Linked DNA regions of Homo sapiens: region 1 is linked to region 2. The links are contacts of gene promoters, found by promoter capture Hi-C in human tissues and cell types (Jung and others, 2019). All regions are on one chromosome and are shown on one strand. The core of a region is centred on a gene start or on the middle of the fragment in contact, and the rest is flanking DNA. Distances in the headings are between cores, read along the strand shown.

Region 1 (4,125 bases), core at 1,428-3,927, 70 kb after region 2:
GAGTTCATCAGTCTTTCCTTGACACGATCTTGACACTTGAAGACTGCAGGTCAGTATGTCCCTCAGTTGGGGTTTGTCTGATTACTAGGATATGCATCTTGGATAAGAATGCCACAGAAATGATTCTGTGTTCTCATTACAAGCTATTAGGTGACACCAGTCTTGACTTGTCCCATTACTGGTGATATTAACTTTGCTCAACTATATATATATGACATATCCAATCAATAAAGATCACCAATCTAGAAGACTGTACTGAGTAAGAACACTTCTCAACCTGGAAGCCTGGGAAGGGCATGAAATTTCCACCCATGGGGTCAAGAGATGACTCAATTGGAACAATTAAGGTGTGGGCTATCCCAGAGGCCAGAGCAGGACCTGGTGGCCTCTCAGGTACCTGAGATATTCAATAACCCAAGAGGGAGAGTGGGGCCTAGGCTGGGGCTTTGGGAGAGCCCTGGGTACAGTGATAAGAAACAAGTAAGCCATACGAAGCGGTTCTAGCCAGGCACGGTGGCTCATGCCTGTAATCCCAGCACTTTGGGAGGCCAAGTGGGTGGATCACAAGGTCAGGAGTTTGAGACCAGCCTAGCCAACATGGTGAAACCCCATCTCTACTAAAAATACAAGCATTAGCAGGGAGTGGTGGCACATGCCTATAATCCCAGCTACTCAGGAGGCTGAGGCAGGAGAATCACTTGAACCCGGGAAGCAGAGGTTACAGTGAGCTCAGATTGTGCCACTGCACTCCAGCCTGGGCAACAGAGTGAGACTCTGTCTCAAAAAAAGAAAAAGTGGTTCTGGTCTCCTCTCCTGGGCTGGAGAGATAACTGAGTCCCTTCGTCATCCCCAGGCAGGGCTGCGGACCATTGAGGAAGAGGCAGCCCCCGAGATCTGTCGCACGGTCTCAGGAGACCTGGCTGCTGAGGAGGAGCTGGAGAGAGCCATGGTGGAGGCTGCGATGGAGGAGGGAATATTCCGGGTGAGGGAGAGCCAGGAGCACCCCTAGTGGTCTAGACACCATGAGTGGCAGTGTCTCACAGAGAGGAGGGCTGGGAGCCCAGCCACACGAGAGGGGGACATGGGAGCTGAAGATACCCCACTCCGTCTCTCCACTTCACCACCCACCTCTCCTGGGACTCAGAATCAATGACCTGATCTACTAGAGGTGTCAAATGCAACACACTCTTTCCCACATTTCCCTACCAAATCTCACCCCTTCCCTTTCCTCCCCACAAACCCTAGGCAACGACCCATCTCCCAGAGGCCCTCCAGGATCAAATGCCCTGCCTGCCTCCACTGAGGCCAGTCCTCCATCCTTAGCTCTGTCTCATGTTTCTTATAACACTTTATTGCTGGAAGGTCTTTAATGACACCTAGTTAGGTCTTTTTGGGTTATTCATGAGGAAATAGTGGCCCACAGAGATCATGTGAGATGTCCAATATCACCTAGTAAATCAGTTTCAGAGCGGGGACTAGAACCCAGTGCTGCAGACTCCCGATTCAGCCCTCTCTCCCCTACACCACACTTCTCTTCTGTGTGCCTGTGTCCCCTATATACCTCCTTAGGTGTGTGCTGTCTACCCCATCAAACAAAGAACTTTCTAAGGGTGGGAATTTTCTTCTTTTGATCTCACCACTCAGTCCATCCTCCTTTGGCCTTATAAGATTTGTCTCCCAATACTATTGCTTGTTCCCAATACCACTGTCCCAGAGTGACAGCCCCCCATGCCCTCCCTGCCCTCACCCCCAGTCACTGCTCTTCTCCTTGCCCCTAGAGGACTGGAGGCCTGTTTGGCCAGGTGGACAACTTCCTGGAAAGGACCAACTCCCTGCCCCCCGTCATGGCCAATCAGAGACCCCTCCAGTTTGCTGAGATAGAGATGGAAGAGATGGAGTCACCTGTCTTCTTGGAGGACTTCCCACAAGATCCACGCACCAACCCCCTGGCTCGTGCCAATACCAACAATGCCAACGCCAATGTCGCCTATGGCAACAGCAACCATAGCAACAGCCATGTGTTTTCCAGGTAGTGGCGGCCACTGCCATCCCTGGGTGTAGAGGTACTGGGAGGACAATGTCAGCAGGTTCCAGGTTGGATTGGAAGAGGGTACCCCAAATTTGTAGGGTGTCTTTTGCTTGCCTTTGTGCCCCAATCCATCCTGAACCTTAATGTAAGAGGCCGACCTCGATGGCAGAGGCTTCTTTGGCCAGCAGGGGGAAGCCTCACATCATGTCAGTATTGGCCCCAGTGTTGAGAGGTTCTTTTATTCCGTCGGCTTCAGCAAGTCTAGGAGCTGAGACGTATTGAACACATGATAGGTTAGGAGAGGATCTTCGGTGGTAGCACATACCACAAAAGACTGTGGACAATAAGATTCCATCACTGGATTTAGGTTCCAAGGAGATCCCGCTGTGCTGGGTGGTTCCCATCTCACCAACCTTGGGCTGTAGACTAAATATAATCTGTGATTACGTAAGTGTCATAAAAAACAGCAGGATGAGGGGGAGAACTTCTCAGCAATCATAACTTAGGGGCTAGGCTCAGGCAAAGCTTCTGTTCTAGACAGGAGGTCAGCTGATTGGAGGCCTCTTCGGCCTGGAAAGGCTTAGCCCCAGGCCTCAGGAATAAGCAGAACAAGGCAGCAGCCAGCCCCTTTTCATGGCCAGGGCTGCCTGCACCCCTTCCAGTCACAGAGACCCCTTAAATTCAGCCCACAAGCCTTGAAGGGTGCATGTACCTTTTTGGGTCACCATGGTGCAAGGTAACGTGGAAATACAGAAGCATCAGCCCTGGGCCCTGCCCTGAAGGGGGTTGTCGTCTTGTTGGGTGATATGTTATGTGATATGATTGGGACCAAATAATCACAGAGGCCAGGAGTGGTGGCTCATGCCTGTAATCCCAGCACTTTGGGAGGCCTAGGCAGGTGGATCACTTGAGGTCAGGAGTTCGAGACCTGCCTGGCCAACATGGAGAAACCGTGTCTCTACTAAAAACACACAAAAAATTAGTCAGGTGTGGTGGCGCATGCCTGAAATCTCAGCTACTCGGGAGGCTGAGGCAGAAGAATCTCTTGAACTCAAGAAGTGGAGGTTGCAGTGAGCTGATTGTGCCACTGCACTCCAGCCTGGGTGAGAGAACAAGACTCCGTCTCAAAAAAACAAAACAAAACAAAACAAATAAACAAAAAACACCAAATAATAACAGATATTTAGTGTCCTGAGAGTGCAGAGGGGGTATGGATCACCATGGGCTGGAAAGACCTAGAATGGTTCTCAGCCTTGGCTGTGCATTAGATAATCCAGGGAGCTTCTGCAAATCCCAATGCCTGGGCCTCACCACAGATGCTGGGTGTGGGACTCAGCCACCACTCACCTTTGAGCTCCTCAGGTGATCCTATGTGTGGCCAAGATGGAGAAGCAGGGTTCCAAAGGCTGGGAGGCTGCAGCTGGGCCTTGGAAGATGAACAGAATGTAGAAAGGGTAGAGGGAGCAACTGAGCAAAGGAGTGGAGTCAGGAATGCTCTGGACTCCTTCCTCCTAGAGAGTCAGGGCTGGCTGGGGCACAGTGGTGGAAACGTCAGCCCTAGAGTCACGGCTGCTACACTAGGTTGGCCTTGTACAGGCTCTGAGGGAAAAGGATGTTTGGGGCCAGAGAGGCAGGGATGCCGAGAGAGCTAGCAGCCTTCTCTGGTTCACCCAGCCTTGCTTCCATTTCAGTGTCCACTATGAAAGGGAGTTCCCAGAAGAGACAGAGACGCCTGCTACCAGAGGACGAGCCCTTGGCCAACCCTGCAGGGTCCTGGGTCAGTCCCTTCTGTGCATCTAAGAAGCTTGAGTCTTCTCCCAGAGGAGTCCGGGAAGCCCCACTCTTTTCTTAGAGTCTGGGAACTTGGCTGGGAGGGCTGGCTTGGGAGCCTGTTACAATGGCAGTCATCTGGGCCCTGGAATGGGAAAACCATCAGGACCAGCTACTTGTCCAGGGGGGAAGCAGGGCACCATCTAGGTGGCTGAGTGAGGTGGAAGGGGGAAAGCCCATTCATGCTAAAGGGCCCTCTGCAGGCCTCCCAGGAAACTCACACAGCCCCCTACACCATCCCCAGCACAGGAGTCCCCACACCGCCC
Region 2 (4,271 bases), core at 1,642-4,141:
CTGCATGCAGCTGGGCGTCATGCCCCCTCCCCGGCAGGCGCCCCTGCCCCCCGCCGAGCCCCTGGGCAACGTGCCCTTCCTGCTGTACCCGGGCCCAGCAGAGCCGCCCTACTACGACGCCTATGCGGGGGTGTTCCCCTACGTGCCCTTCCCCGGCGCCTTCGGGGTCTACGAATACCCCTTCGAGCCAGCCTTCATCCAGAAGCGCAACGAGCGCGAGAGGCAGCGAGTCAAGTGCGTCAACGAGGGCTACGCTCGCCTCCGCGGCCACCTCCCCGGCGCCCTGGCTGAGAAGCGACTCAGCAAGGTGGAGACGCTGCGCGCCGCCATCCGCTACATAAAGTACCTGCAAGAGCTGCTGAGCTCGGCCCCCGACGGCTCGACGCCCCCCGCTTCCCGCGGCCTCCCGGGCACCGGGCCCTGCCCCGCGCCGCCCGCCACCCCCCGTCCCGACCGCCCTGGCGACGGCGAGGCCCGGGCGCCCTCCTCCCTGGTGCCGGAGTCATCCGAGTCCTCCTGCTTCTCCCCGTCGCCTTTCTTGGAGTCGGAGGAATCCTGGCATTGATCGGGCCTGTGGCCGCCCCCGGCTTGGAGGATGATCCGCCGGCCCCGTCCCACTTTCGGGAGCAGCGGGAGGCTGTTGGGTCACCCGCGATGCGCCGCAGGACGGTGACTGTAGGAGGTCCGCGGCGCTCCCGTGTCTGCGACACCCTCCCTCCTCCACCAGCTTGGGGCGGAAGTGCAGGGCAGCGGGTACGATGGGCACGATAGAGACCTAGGAGCTCCGTGGGTGAAGCGAGGGGCAGGGCCTGGGACTGCTCCGGGCGTCCTGCGTCCCCTCCGGGGTGCAGAGGGGCTCCCCAGGACGGTCATCCCTGGGTCTGGCTCCCGCTCGGCCTCAGGTGGCTCTGCTCCGTCCTTCCTTGCCGCAGGCGCAGTCCAGTCTCTGCGAGTCCCCGGGATGCGAGCCCGACTTTGAGCCCTCGGTTACCATGCCACTGCTCTCCACCAGATGGCCTCAGATACTAGCGACTTCTTTGGGAGCACGCTTACTCCTCGAGAAAGGAACCCAGAGGAAGGGATGGGAGGCCAGATTGCTGCTGGCGCTCAGCCCAGACCGAACCTACAGACTCAGCAGAGGCGACCTGTGTGCCCCGGTGGCGTTCTCTGGCTTCCTGGGTTGGGAGGGGGGGTTACTCCCTCCCCGCATCCCCCCCATGAGGTCGTCTAGTTTTGTCCCAGGTTGGGTGGGGACTGTGGTTTTTTTCCCTCAGACTGTAAGCCTTGGGGGAGGGGGGCGTGCATATAGGTACATAGGCACTGCGTCGGCACCAAAGAGCTAAATAAAAGGATTGTTGAATTTTCTCATTCCTAGATCATTGTCTACCCTCACCCTTCCTGGTGCCCCTTTCTTATTCTCACTCCCAGCCCAGAGTACTTGCTGGGAGGATATGTGGGGTTCGCTGTTAGCTCAGCACATTTAAGATTCAGTGTTGTTAGCTCAGGCGTTCAATGAATTTTTTTTTTTTTTTTTTTTTTTTTGAGACAGGTTTTGCTCTGTTGCCCAGACTGGAGTGCAGTGATTCAATCCCTGCTCACTGCAACCTCCTTCTCCTGGGTTTGAGCAATTCTCCTGCCTCAGCCTCCAGAGTAGCTGGGATTATAGGTGCACACCACCACGCCCGCTAATCTTTGGTATTTTTAGTAGAATGCGGGTTTCACCATGTTGGCCATGCTGGTCTCGAATTCCTCACCTCAAGTTATCTACCTACCTTGGTTTCCCAAAGTGCTGGGATTACCGTGGCTATCCTCAATGAACTTTTCTTTTTGAGACAAGGTCTCACTCTGTCTCACTCTGTCATCCAGGCTGGAGTGCAGTGGCCAGATCTTGGCTCATTGCAGCCTCAACCTCCCAGGCTCAACTGATCCTCCCACCTTGGCCCCCCTAGTAGCTGGGACTACAAACACACACCACCATACCCTGCTAATTTTTGTATTTTTTGTAGAGACAGAGTTTCACTACGTTGCCCCGACTGGTCTTGAAGTCCTGAGCTCAAGCCATTCTCCCACCTCAGCCTCCCAAAGTGTTGGGATTACAGGCGTGAGCCACCATGCCTGGCCTCAGTGAACATTTACAGGGAGCATAGTACATAGGGGGACTGTGCAGAGAAGGGGCCAGAGTCCCAGAGATAATGCACACAACCTTTACACCTGTAGGGATGGGAGGAGATGGGGAAGAAAGATACACAGCAGATGCTCCACAGTGAGGCAGGTGCTATGCCAGAGGTGTGCACACTCAGGGTTGTTCTGGGAGCCTTCTAGCCCACTGGAGAGGGGTTTACTGTTTCTCTGACATGGGATTGCTTGTGGGGGTGGGTTGAGGGTATGCTTGGGGAGTTTTGGCTGATGGTGCAGATACTGAGATGGGTAGGGGCTGCTGTGGAGCTGTCCTGACTTAGGCTGCCCAGTGCCTTCTCCAGACAATGTCATGGGGCTGAGGAGGGGTAAGCCTAATTTTGGCATGAGGGGGCCACTCTGCAGTTTGAGGTTCCATATCCAAGGCTACCTATTCCTGACCTCTGTTGCCCCAGGCTTGAAACCTTCCATCCTGTCTCCCTCTCCCACTGCCCCTGCCCCATCCCAGGCCTGTGTGTAAGTTCTTCCCCCGACCCACCCCACCCTCCTCAGGGGACAGATTGGGAAGTCACTGGCTGGGCTGGGTGGAATGACAGCTGCCTGGCCTCAGAAGCTCAGGCCCGGCAGCGGGGAGCCGAGTGGAGGCTAATTTTACTTGCTGGGAGCGAGGAGAGTAATCCTCCTGCCCCCACTCCTGCCCCCGCCCCCTGGCTGGCTCAGCAGGGCAGGCTCAGCCGACAGCCTCAGCCAGCCTAGTCCCCAAGGCGGGGGCATTGGGGACACAGGGAAGGGAAAGCACTGGGGTGGGGGAGCAGGAGAAAGCCAGATTCCCAGGGAAGCCATGGAGCCATCCTCACCCCAGGATGAAGGCCTGAGGAAGAAACAGCCCAAGAAGCCAGTTCCTGAGATTCTGCCAAGGCCACCCCGGGCCTTGTTCTGCCTGACCCTGGAGAACCCCCTGAGGAAGGCCTGCATCAGCATTGTAGAATGGAAGTATCCTTCAGGGCCCGGGCCGTGGGGGGGGGTGTGCGTCATGAGGGAGGGATTCGGGGTGATCACAGAGCACAAACTTCCTACAGGAGGGCCAGGGAGGCCTGGCACTTAGACATGGGGTGAACTCACAGAATTGAGTGAGGAGCTGGGGGAAGGAGCCCTCGGCTAAGCAGGAGAGGAGGAGGAGGAAGAGGAGGAAGACGAGGAGGGTGGGGGAGGAGGAGGAAGAGGAGGAGGGTGGGGGAGGAGGAGGAAGAGGAGGAGGAGGAAGAGGAAGAGAAGGAGGACTTGGTGGGGCTTCCTGGGCCTGAGTGGGCCACCCAAGTCCTGGATGACAACCAGAGATGCCTACTGACCACCTATGGGTGGGGCCTGTTTCATGGGGACTGTTCCCATGTGTGCCCAAATCCACATTATCATGGGGTGCCACTAGGTTTTTGAAGCACCAGCCTCATTTTAGAATAGGATAGGGACCAAAAAAAGATGCGATGGCCTCTTTGAGAAAACTCTCCCTTGTTTGGGTTGGGTGGGGGGTGACAGTGGACAGAGGTGAGCTGAAGGAAGGCTTCCTCTGGGGGCAGGTCCCAGCTGAGGACAGAGCCAAGGGGAGAAATGGATCTGAAAGACACCTGGTCTCAGTGGCTCCAAGACACAGGCCAAACAAGCCTGGTTGTTCTAGCTCAGACGTGCCACCCTGGGGACAGGGACTTTGAAACTCATGCTATGTTTGCATTTGCTCTGGTGGGGAGAATGATGAAAATATCTGGGTTATTTGGGGAAGGGAGGAAGGAGTGACAGAGAGAAGGGGAGGGCTGTGTCAAGTGGGTTCTGAGAGCGAGGGTGGGGCATATTTGAAATATTTCTGAAGAGTTCTGGAAGGCTGGGCTCCTACCAGCTGTTCCCTAGAAGGAAGGAGAATGAGGGATAACTGGAAGGACAAGAGAAACGTGGGGCAAGTAGAGATAGTTTGGGGTCAGGGTCAGCCCTGTTCCCCTGACCCGCTCTCGGCCAGGCGGTATATCGCCCACATCAAACCCTCCTAGGCCCTCCCTCCTTGCCTCTCTTCTGCAATCAGGTTTACTCTGTGGGTTCTCCCTCTCCTCCATCCTCTGCTCCTCTGCGCCCTGCCCCTGTGGCCCTCC

Evidence for each region. The method cuts DNA at HindIII sites, captures the fragments that hold promoters and counts their contacts. A contact is called where the count stands out against the background at its distance.
Region 1: a fragment that was not itself captured here is called in contact with the fragment with the promoter of CACNA1S in region 2 in 4 of the 25 tissues and cell types used here (H1 embryonic stem cells, lymphoblastoid cells, mesendoderm cells and 1 more).

Annotation. Positions count from the first base shown.
Region 1 is chr1:201,041,185-201,045,309 of GRCh38, reverse strand. CACNA1S (calcium voltage-gated channel subunit alpha1 S) reads left to right here. Exons shown (of 44, transcript NM_000069.3): 39 at 854-982; 40 at 1,779-2,029; 41 at 3,721-3,806. Among named protein-coding and RNA genes, the nearest start is that of KIF21B, 20 kb to the right of the region's middle. The HindIII fragment of the contact is 6,224 bases long and covers 1-4,125 here.
Region 2 is chr1:201,111,046-201,115,316 of GRCh38, reverse strand. It overlaps CACNA1S (calcium voltage-gated channel subunit alpha1 S), which reads left to right and starts at 2,891. Exons shown (of 44, transcript NM_000069.3): 1 at 2,891-3,129. The coding sequence starts at 2,978. ASCL5 (achaete-scute family bHLH transcription factor 5) reads left to right here. Exons shown (of 2, transcript NM_001270601.2): 2 at 1-1,374. The coding sequence ends at 565. RefSeq lists an enhancer at 1-64 and a silencer at 715-764. The HindIII fragment of the contact is 14,734 bases long and covers 1-4,271 here.